3 separate regions of the Homo sapiens genome follow, and all the other regions are linked to region 3. The links are contacts of gene promoters, found by promoter capture Hi-C in human tissues and cell types (Jung and others, 2019). All regions are on one chromosome and are shown on one strand. The core of a region is centred on a gene start or on the middle of the fragment in contact, and the rest is flanking DNA. Distances in the headings are between cores, read along the strand shown.

Region 1 (2,921 bases), core at 383-2,882, 45 kb before region 3:
GGTGGAGTCTTGCTCAGTCACCCAGGCTGGAGTGCAGTGGTGCGATCTTGGCTCACTGCAACCTCTGCCTCCCGGGTTCAAGCAATTCTCCTGCCTCAGCCTCCTGAGTAGCTAGGATTACAGGTGCCCACCACTGTGCCAGGCTAATTTTTGTATTTTTAGTAGAGATGGGGTTTCGCCATGTTGGCCAGGCTGGTCTCGAACTCCTGACCTCGTGATCCACCCATCTCAGCCTCCCAAAGTGCTGGGATTACAGGCATGAGCCACCGCGCCCAGCCCCTATGAATTCCTCTTTTGAAAGTCTTCTTGATTTTATTCTTCCTCAGATTTTAGTGCTATGATTAAATAACAATATTCTTTTAGTACTGATTTCTTTTCTTCTTTTAGCCTTATTTTCTTCCTCTCCCCTTCTATCTTCTTTCCTTCCCTCTTTTCTTGAACTCTGTGAGAAGCTCTGACACAGCTCAGCATGCAGAGGATGAGAACACTGGCTCCCATGTCACTGCTGAGCCCACATACTCTACCATTGTGGGTTCCAGCTCTGTTCAGCTAGTCTCATTTCTGTGATAATTCTGATTTGAGTATGGACAGTGATCCCTTTTCAGCTTTGTAGCTCTTCAGGCAGAATGATCCCTCTGGCCACTTTATCTGCTGTCCAAGGAACAACACTCTTCATGTTTGCACTTGGCGTGGGACAGGCCATTGAGGATGGAGCTGGAAGAAAGAGTTACTCCTGTCTTTGGTGACTGGAGCTCTAACAGGGAGCTATCGTCATATAATAGATCCCAAGATAACAGGAGCTCAGATACTTATGGGAGAATTGAGGCTGGGTTATATCCAGCTTTGATTTTGCTCTTCAAATTGAAATTGATCCAAGCTGAGGAAACCAAGGAGTGATAGAGGGAAGAAAAAAGAAGAAGAGGGAGAGAGAAAAAAGGAGGAGGAGAACACATGTGCATGTTCAAAACCCTAATAGGATTGGGTGAGAGCCATTGAATACCTGGTCCACTGCAATTGTAAAGTCTGCTTTCACCATCAGGAGTGGGTTTAGCATCTGGAAGTGATTTCATTCTGTGATTACCTTTGGACTGCAATGCTTGTTGGTTCTTTACTAACAAGCAAGCACAGACCCAGGGCAAGCCTTTCATGCTAACAAGCAAACAAGCCATCAGGCTGCAGATTTCAAAACCAGAGGCAGGAGGCGGATGTGAAGTGGGTCAAAATCCTGTTGCTTCCCAGGGGAAAAAAAAGTTGGGAGAGAGAAAAAGAAGTGGCTTTGCCCTCCTAAGCCCTTTTTCAAAGCACATGGAAAGTCAGCAATTATTCCATAGATCATATATCTGCCCATGTATTTCAAAACTTTTGGAATGCAACTAACATTGCCTCAGGCAAGTAGTAAGAGACATTCAGCTCTGTTTAACTCCACAATATAACATTGGGGAGCAACGTGTCTGTGGGCTGTCTTCCCTCTAAAACACTTGGACGCTCCAACCCTAGTAAGAAGATCTGAGACCATATTCCCCTTCTCTGTGCAGATTCCCTCAAATTTGCCAAACGTGCCCAAGTAGCCCTTGGTTATTCACATTCACAGAATGTCCCTTTAAAATGTGTGTGATGATTAAAGCAACGAAATGTGAAAGATCAACTTTGCATTTCCCAATCTGTAATGTTTTGTTCCATGCAAACTTTCTCAATAACCTGTTCTATTAAAGATTTTGAGAAGCCTTATTTTGATGGAAGCCAATTACCAGCGTTAGGCCTCCAAAGACTGATTATAATTTACATATATTGGTGCCATAAAAAGCTGTCCATAAGTTTTTAGCATTGACCAGCTTTTAGAAATCCTAAAAGGAGGCAAGCCAGGTTTTAAGTGCAGAAGTCTGGAAGGGCAATACATTAGATTAAAGAGTAGCAGTGAGTAATAATGATAATGATAGGCACCAAGATTTCCTTAGTACCTAGAATGTGCCAGGCACTCTGCTAGGCCCTTGTATATGTAATCACTGTTATTTAATCCCACCACAAACCCAGTGATATGAATTCTATTATTACCCCTCATTTACAGATGAGGCAATGGAGACGTAAGGAAGTTTCTTGCCCAAAGTCCCACAACTTAGAAAAGGCACAACCAAAACTGAAACCCACAGGTACCAGGACATTATGGAGAAAATATTCTGTTTTTGTGTTCTAGGCTCACTCTTCTCGATAAGCTACAATGGGACTCAACTTTCCCTAGGATTTGTATATAAGGTGTATGTCCACGGTACATGCGTGTAAGTACATCAGGATTTAACTTTTGGAGGAAGATGGTAGCTATCAGAAATTATGTGTACTCCCAGCTTCTTCAAAGAGATGAGCCAGAGTTATGTTCAGAGTGAGATGACCATTTCATTGCTGCTTGTGCCCCTTGTGGGCACTGAATAGCAAGGCTGGATTAAAACTGCCAATGGTCCTCACCTCCGGGCATACAAGCTTTGTGACATCCCTTCCCATTGAATGTGGGATGGACAAAGGGACTTGCTTCTAATTAATATAATAGGGCAAAATCAGTGAGATGTCACTATAGAGATTGGGTTACAAAAAGACACGCTTTCTCACGGGTTTGTTCTGAAGGAAGGCAGCCGCATATTGTGAGCTGCCCTTTGGAGAAGTCCACGTGGCAAGGAGTGATGTCTCCAGTCCACAGCCAGGGAGGATGTGAGACCTGGCAACAGACAGGAGAGCCAGTTTGGAAGTGGATCTTCCCCGGGTTGAGCATTGAGATGACTGCAGCCTTGTGAGAGATCTTAAGTGGGACATCCAGCTAAGCTGTGCTAGGACTCCTGATAATGAGAAACCTAAGATAGTAACTTTTCTTTTTCTAAACCACTAAGATTCAGGGTAGTCTTTTACACAACATAGATAACTAATCCACTTCTGTA
Region 2 (3,119 bases), core at 588-3,087, 57 kb after region 3:
TCATTGTGTAAGCCACCCGGTCTGTGGTGTTTTGTTATGGCAGACAGAACTGACTAGCACAGGAGCTTGGTGAAGGAGTGGGGTGGCAGGAATTGGGAGATGTTCATGCCATTCACCTAGATCAAGAACACAGGACAAGAAGCAAATTGGGACAGTGTAAGTTCAGATTTGGATATGTTGTTTGGCAGAAATTCACATAAGGAGGTAAACAACTGAAAATATAGATTGGAAGCTCTGAAGAGAGGTTGGCTAGAGGTATGGATTTAGGAGCCATCAGCAACAGGTGGCAGCTGAAGCCACGGGGATGGGTATACAGTGCAGGATGGGAATTCAACCCTAGTCTCTGAGAAGAAATGTCCAGAGATGGAGGAAGAGAACCATGATAGAGTGGTGACTCTGCAGCCAATGAGAGAATTTTAGAAAGGGGTGATTAACATTATCAAATGCCTCAGAGCACTGGGCACATTTCTAGGAACATGTCTAAGTGTTTTTGAGATGGCTGTTAAAATCAAGGAGCTGGACGGGCACGATGGCTCATGCCCGTAATTCCAGCACTTTGGGAGACCGAGCAGGGAGGATTGCTTGAGCCTAGGAGTTTGAGGTGGCAGTGAGCTATGATTACACCGCTATACTCTGGCCTGGGCAACAGAGAGAGACCCTGTCTTGGGGGGAAAAAACAAAACAACAAAAAACAGAAAATAAGGAGCTTACGGTCTGCCTAAAAAGAACACAAACACATGGCAATTAGGAAATCACTCAATTAAGAAATTGCTTATCAATGTAACAGAAAAGTGTAATAGAGATTCATCCATTTATTCTGCACACATATATTGAGCTCCCACTATGTGTCAGGCATTTAGTTGTCAGAAGAGGCAATTGGATTTTTAAAGAGAAGGATATGACTTAGTTGTGGGGCTGGAAAGAATGATTTTTCTGGCTAAGTGAAAAAGAATAGCAGAGTAACATGGGCATATTGGCTGGGATGGGTTTGGGAGGGTGGAGAGGATCTGGTTTTGACCAGAGTCCAAAGAAGGGGGAATAATTTGGGGGAAAGCCTGCCTGAGTGAGTTGGTACCGTAGATTGGAGAGCTGGAAGGCACCCATCGAGTGTAGCTAGTCCCAGAAGTTTTCCTACTCCAATATTTTCTAAAGGTTATGCTCCTACTGCTGCAACACAAGGCAGAACCCCCTTGTGTCAGGCTGTCAAGCTAATAGGGCCACTGCCTCCTCCAGAAAGGACATGCAGAAAGTGCAAGCTACTCCATTGGTCACCAAATATGCCTCCAAATGCCCTCTGACTTGGACAGGACATTCGCATAACAAAATTCCGAAGCAAAGCATAATTAAAAGAGGGTTTTAGGTACAAGAGCAGCTTCCAAGCCCTGATCTACACCTGGGCTCTTTCAAATAGCAGGTGCAAGGAGACTGGGTGATTCAAAGAGTCAATCATAACTTATATTGGCTTTGGGTGGACCGATAGACAGCCTGACGTATGGTCGGGCGGACAGTTAGAATGAGCGAATGCGTGGATGATGTACTACCAGTCTCCGACCACCACCAGTTTTCCCTAGCCGGAAACTAGTAGCAAAGCTTCCCCGAGACCGCTCTAAAGCTGCAGTTCTCCAGACGGCCGCCGGAAGAGGGCGCTGCGGATCGCCTCGGTCTGCAACCTTCAGACCCCAAGTCCTAGGCAGCGAGGGAGAATTCAGCCTCCCTCAAGTCCCAGAAAACATTGGGCCTCGGAGATTCCCCCTCCACCCTTCCCTCACACCCACCCCAATGGCCTGGGGTCGATACTGCGGCCACCGGAAACTGCCTGGGACAAGTGTTGGGGATGTGGGGGAGACGGGCTGTGGTGGGAGGTTGGAGAGGAGGAAAGGAGCGGAGGAGGGAACCCCAGCGCTGCTGGCAAGCCCGCGGGAAACTCGAACACCCAAGGCCCACGGGCTCCCACTGTTGGGACTGAGATTTGTTGGGGAACAGAGGGCAGAAAGAGCTATAGGTTTCGACTACCTAAAGCTGAATGAGGCTGCACAGGTCCTGGGGCGAAAACAGCCGCGCCGCCACAAGGATGCTTCGGGAATCTGTCCTTTAATTATCAGGAGCAGCTGCGAAACTTACCTTAGCGCAGCACGAACCCTAGAGCGCCCCCGAGGGTGTCCCTGCCCCTTCCGACGGGGGCGTCTGGCGGATTCGCGGCGTAGCACGGCAGCGCGGGCCTCACAGGGTCGGCTGACCGCTTCAGGCCCGTGCTCCTACCTCCCGTCTCCGTCTTGGTTTCCTCGCAATTCAAAGGGAGCTGCTGAGCTCCCGCTGTTCTCTGCTTTGTAACCCGCTCCCTCAGGTTCCCTCCTACCCCAGGCCCCTTCCCGCCAGAGGGCGCCCCTGGAGTCGGTGGAGAAGGTAGGGGCTCTAAATACAAAAATTCAAGACGAGTTGAATCTTGGCTTGAACTGCGTGACAGGAAAATAGGCAAGTTTGGAGACCACAGGTGTTAACTTCTAGTGGGGCTTGACCCGACAGAGGAGCAGATTCTTCAACACCAAAGGCCTAAGGGCCGGACTCTCTTCGCGGACTCTGGCCCTCATAGACGCGCCCTCGCCTCCCATACCCTCCGTAGAGCATGCCTGTGAGGGAAAGGGAGAAGCAGAAGCCGCGCTCGGATGACTTGGCGCCCCACCCCCCAGCCTGCCCACAGGCCACGAATTGAGAAAAGCTTTCCCAAAAGGAAAGTCCTCTCAAAGGCCCTAGACGGTCAAATCGGGAAAGGGAGCAGTAGAGGGATCCTTCCTCCCGCTGCGTCTGTGAAAGCCGCCTGTCTGCACGCCCCGGGCTCCCGCGGTCCCTCCCGAGGATTTCGGTTCTGGTGCCTGAGAAAGCAGCGCAGAGGGGGCCCTGCGAGACCCCTCCAGAGAAATCATCCCCCGGAGGCATTCCTCGGATCTTGGGGTTGCGGAGCAGCGCCCCCCAGCGCCCAGTTACACTCCTGCCTTCCGCTCCCTGCGCCTGGTTGCCTCGATGGCACTCGCGAGCCCAGCTCAGCCCGGCTTAGAAGCCTGTGCCTAGCTGTGGGAGACTGCGGGAGCAACTGAGGGGCCCAAGTGTTTCTTGTTGAAGGT
Region 3 (3,003 bases), core at 114-2,613:
GACAGGGCCGCCGCCGCCGCATCCGAGCCAGGTTCGAGTTCAGCCCGGGAGGAGCCAGGACTTCTGGTGCAGCCACCCAAGTACAGAGCCCTTCGCTACAATTTAGCAACTAAATATCCAAACTACTAGCTTCAGTAGGAGAGGCCTCTGAGAGGGCGTTCCTCTGTAGATTGAAGCGCGGCCAGAGCTAGGCCATGGCCCAACAAAATGTATCCACGGCGGCCTGTTCCCTGCGCCTCCTACATTGATCATTTTCTAGGGTGGAACTGTGGAAACTAGAAGATCCCAGAGAAACCCATGGCCGGTGGTATTTTCTGCCGGGTAGGCCCTGTCCTAATTCTCCCGATCGGTCCATTCCCGGACCAAGGCGGGCAGCCTCGTCAGGGTCTGCCATGCTGCGAGCGGGGAGCGTAGGCCATGGGCAGGCTCCTGGGCAAAGACCAAAGCCCAGGCAGTGAGAGTGCCGTTGAGGCTATGGGGCCAAGGCGCACAGGCGGCACCAGTTCATCTGGCGACTCCAAGGAGGCCTCAAAGCCCTCACAGGATGCCCTGAGAAGCGCCCCCGCCCAGGGGCTCTAAAGCGGGCCTGGACCCAAATTTGTGGAGCTCGGCCTCCGAGCTCCGAGATCGGCAGCGGCCGGGCGAAGCTGGGCCAAAGAGACAGGCACTGTAGACCTAAGTAGCTTGGCTACAAGCCTCTTCTGTTTTGCCGGCCTGTGGAGACGTGGAGCTGGGGCTCCGAATGTTGTCCCAGCCCTTCCTCAGCACCTCTGAGGCTGTTAGGGGGATGTATGGTGTGATCCGAGGCTCCCAGCGGCCGTTGAAACCCCTGGGCCAATGCTGGCAGGGCCAGGCTAATCTTTACGCCCTCCTGAAACTTGTCATCCTGAATCTTAGAGGGGCCCAACCAAAAAGAGAAAGGGAGCGCGCCAGAGTTTAACGCCGCTTTGTAAATCACTTTCTGGATAATTGCGGGAAACTACCACTCCAGCAAACAAGCTCGAAGAATAAAGCAAACAGGGAATAAATTCCTGGGTGCTAATAAACCCACCCCTGCCACCCCCACCCTTCCCGGCGCTCCCGCGGGGCCTGGCCTCAAGTCAGCCCAGGAGGAGGAGGAGGAAGCTGGGGCTGGGTCAGGCGGGTGGTGGCCACCGCTCGCCACCCAAGATGTTATTCACTGGTAACAATCCCCATTATCTGTCCCCACTTTGGGCTAATCAGACAGAATCGCTAATGCCAAATGCTGCTTCCTGCAGCCTCTGGGAGGTAACTGGGCGCCAAGGGGCGGGGTGCGGGGCGGGGTGCGGGGCGGGGCGGGGGCGGAGGTGGCACCTTCCGGGCTCGCCCCGGCTCTGGTCCAGTGCTCATTCAGGTACTTAACACCCTGGAGACCCGGACCTCGGCTTTCAAAGCGGCCTGGGTGGGAAGAGCTGTTTATATAAACAGAGATTCCGCTGTAAATGCGCTAATATCCCGGCTGCCAGCGCATGGCGAGCGCCTCCCACGCCCATCCGTAGGAGCGGCGTCCCGGCCGCCCCTCCGTTCCCAGCCTGCCCTGCCCCCGCCTCCTTCCCCTCCTCGGCCATGGCCACCTCTGGACGCCTGAGCTTCACCGTGCGCAGCCTTCTAGATTTACCCGAGCAGGACGCGCAACACCTGCCGAGGCGGGAGCCAGAACCACGCGCCCCCCAGCCCGACCCCTGCGCCGCCTGGCTGGATTCGGAGCGCGGCCACTACCCTTGTAAGTGCGTGGTGGATTGCGGTGCGGGGTGGGAGGTAGGAGGCGTGGGGCAGCAGAATCAAGGGCCCAGCCCACGAGGGGCCGGAAAGCCGAAATCCCAGCCCAGAGTCTAGATTTCCTCAGTCTTGGAAACGGGAGCCCTGTCCTCGAACCCCTAACGCATTCATCCCGGTCGGCACATCCTAAGAGCAGATCCCTGCCTGGCACTGGTGCTCCGAGATTTGGGGTTTCTGTGTCTGACGATTTCTAGAGGTCGGAATAATTGAAATTTAAAACGCGCCGCCACCTGCCGCCCCCACCCCACCCCCCGCCCCCTCTCCATGCCTGAAAACACGGCCACGATCTCCAGGCCTCCGTCTGGGATGGCCAGTGTTGGCGAGTTTACCCCCACCCCGTTCCCACTCAGGGCTCCGCAAACCTCGGCACACTGCAGTGCAGTCGACCTGGAGGAGGCCGGCGCTGGTGACCCAGCTTGTGATAAACTGGTCGGCCAGCGCAACTACCGGTGCGGACATGTTAAGAGGGCCCCGGGGTGGGTTTTTTCGGGGCACGATCTCAGGCCCGCTGATGACCGCTGTGGTATGAATGAGGTCACCGCATTCGGAGAGGTGGATGTCCAGATGTGGACTCAGGAAATGGCCTCATCCCGAAAGTCTCGGGCTAGTGGGCGTGCCCTCTGGCCAGTGCCTCCACGCCCGCGCCAGAAGGGCAGCAGGCCCTCGTAGGGTCCGGCGTCTCACCCACCCGTGTCTCCTTTGCTGTCCCTAGCCTCGGACGAGAGCAGCCTGGAGACCAGCCCGCCAGACTCGTCGCAGCGGCCGTCCGCTAGGCCCGCGTCTCCGGGCTCGGACGCCGAGAAAAGGAAGAAGCGGCGGGTGCTATTCTCCAAGGCGCAGACGCTGGAGTTGGAGCGGCGCTTCCGGCAGCAGCGGTACCTGTCTGCGCCCGAGCGCGAGCAGCTGGCGAGCCTGCTTCGCCTCACGCCCACGCAGGTCAAGATCTGGTTCCAGAATCATCGCTACAAGCTGAAGCGCGCTCGCGCTCCAGGGGCGGCGGAGTCGCCTGACCTGGCAGCATCCGCCGAGCTGCACGCCGCGCCCGGCCTGCTGCGTCGCGTGGTGGTGCCGGTGCTTGTTCGCGACGGGCAGCCGTGCGGCGGCGGCGGCGGTGGCGAGGTGGGAACCGCCGCGGCCCAGGAGAAGTGCGGCGCCCCTCCAGCCGCCGCCTGCCCTCTGCCGGGCTACCCTGCCTTCGGTCCC

The links. Contacts are between HindIII fragments. The study calls those that stand out against the background at their distance.
Region 1: a fragment that was not itself captured here is called in contact with the fragment with the promoter of NKX2-8 in region 3 in 1 of the 25 tissues and cell types used here (liver).
Region 2: a contact is called between a fragment that was not itself captured here and the fragment with the promoter of NKX2-8 in region 3, in 5 of the 25 tissues and cell types used here (H1 embryonic stem cells, adrenal gland, mesendoderm cells and 2 more).

The regions. Positions count from the first base shown.
Region 1 is chr14:36,626,582-36,629,502 of GRCh38, reverse strand. No RefSeq gene overlaps it. Among named protein-coding and RNA genes, the nearest start is that of PAX9, 34 kb to the left of the region's middle. The HindIII fragment of the contact is 5,003 bases long and covers 1-2,921 here.
Region 2 is chr14:36,524,211-36,527,329 of GRCh38, reverse strand. It overlaps LOC105370453 (a long non-coding RNA gene), which reads right to left and starts at 2,641. Exons shown (of 3, transcript XR_001750715.2): 1 at 2,122-2,641. RefSeq lists an enhancer at 1,526-2,464. The HindIII fragment of the contact is 5,941 bases long and covers 1-3,119 here.
Region 3 is chr14:36,580,974-36,583,976 of GRCh38, reverse strand. NKX2-8 (NK2 homeobox 8) reads left to right here and starts at 1,363. Exons shown (of 2, transcript NM_014360.4): 1 at 1,363-1,744; 2 at 2,513-3,003. The coding sequence starts at 1,588. RefSeq lists enhancers at 1,972-2,782, 2,783-3,003. The HindIII fragment of the contact is 13,278 bases long and covers 1-3,003 here.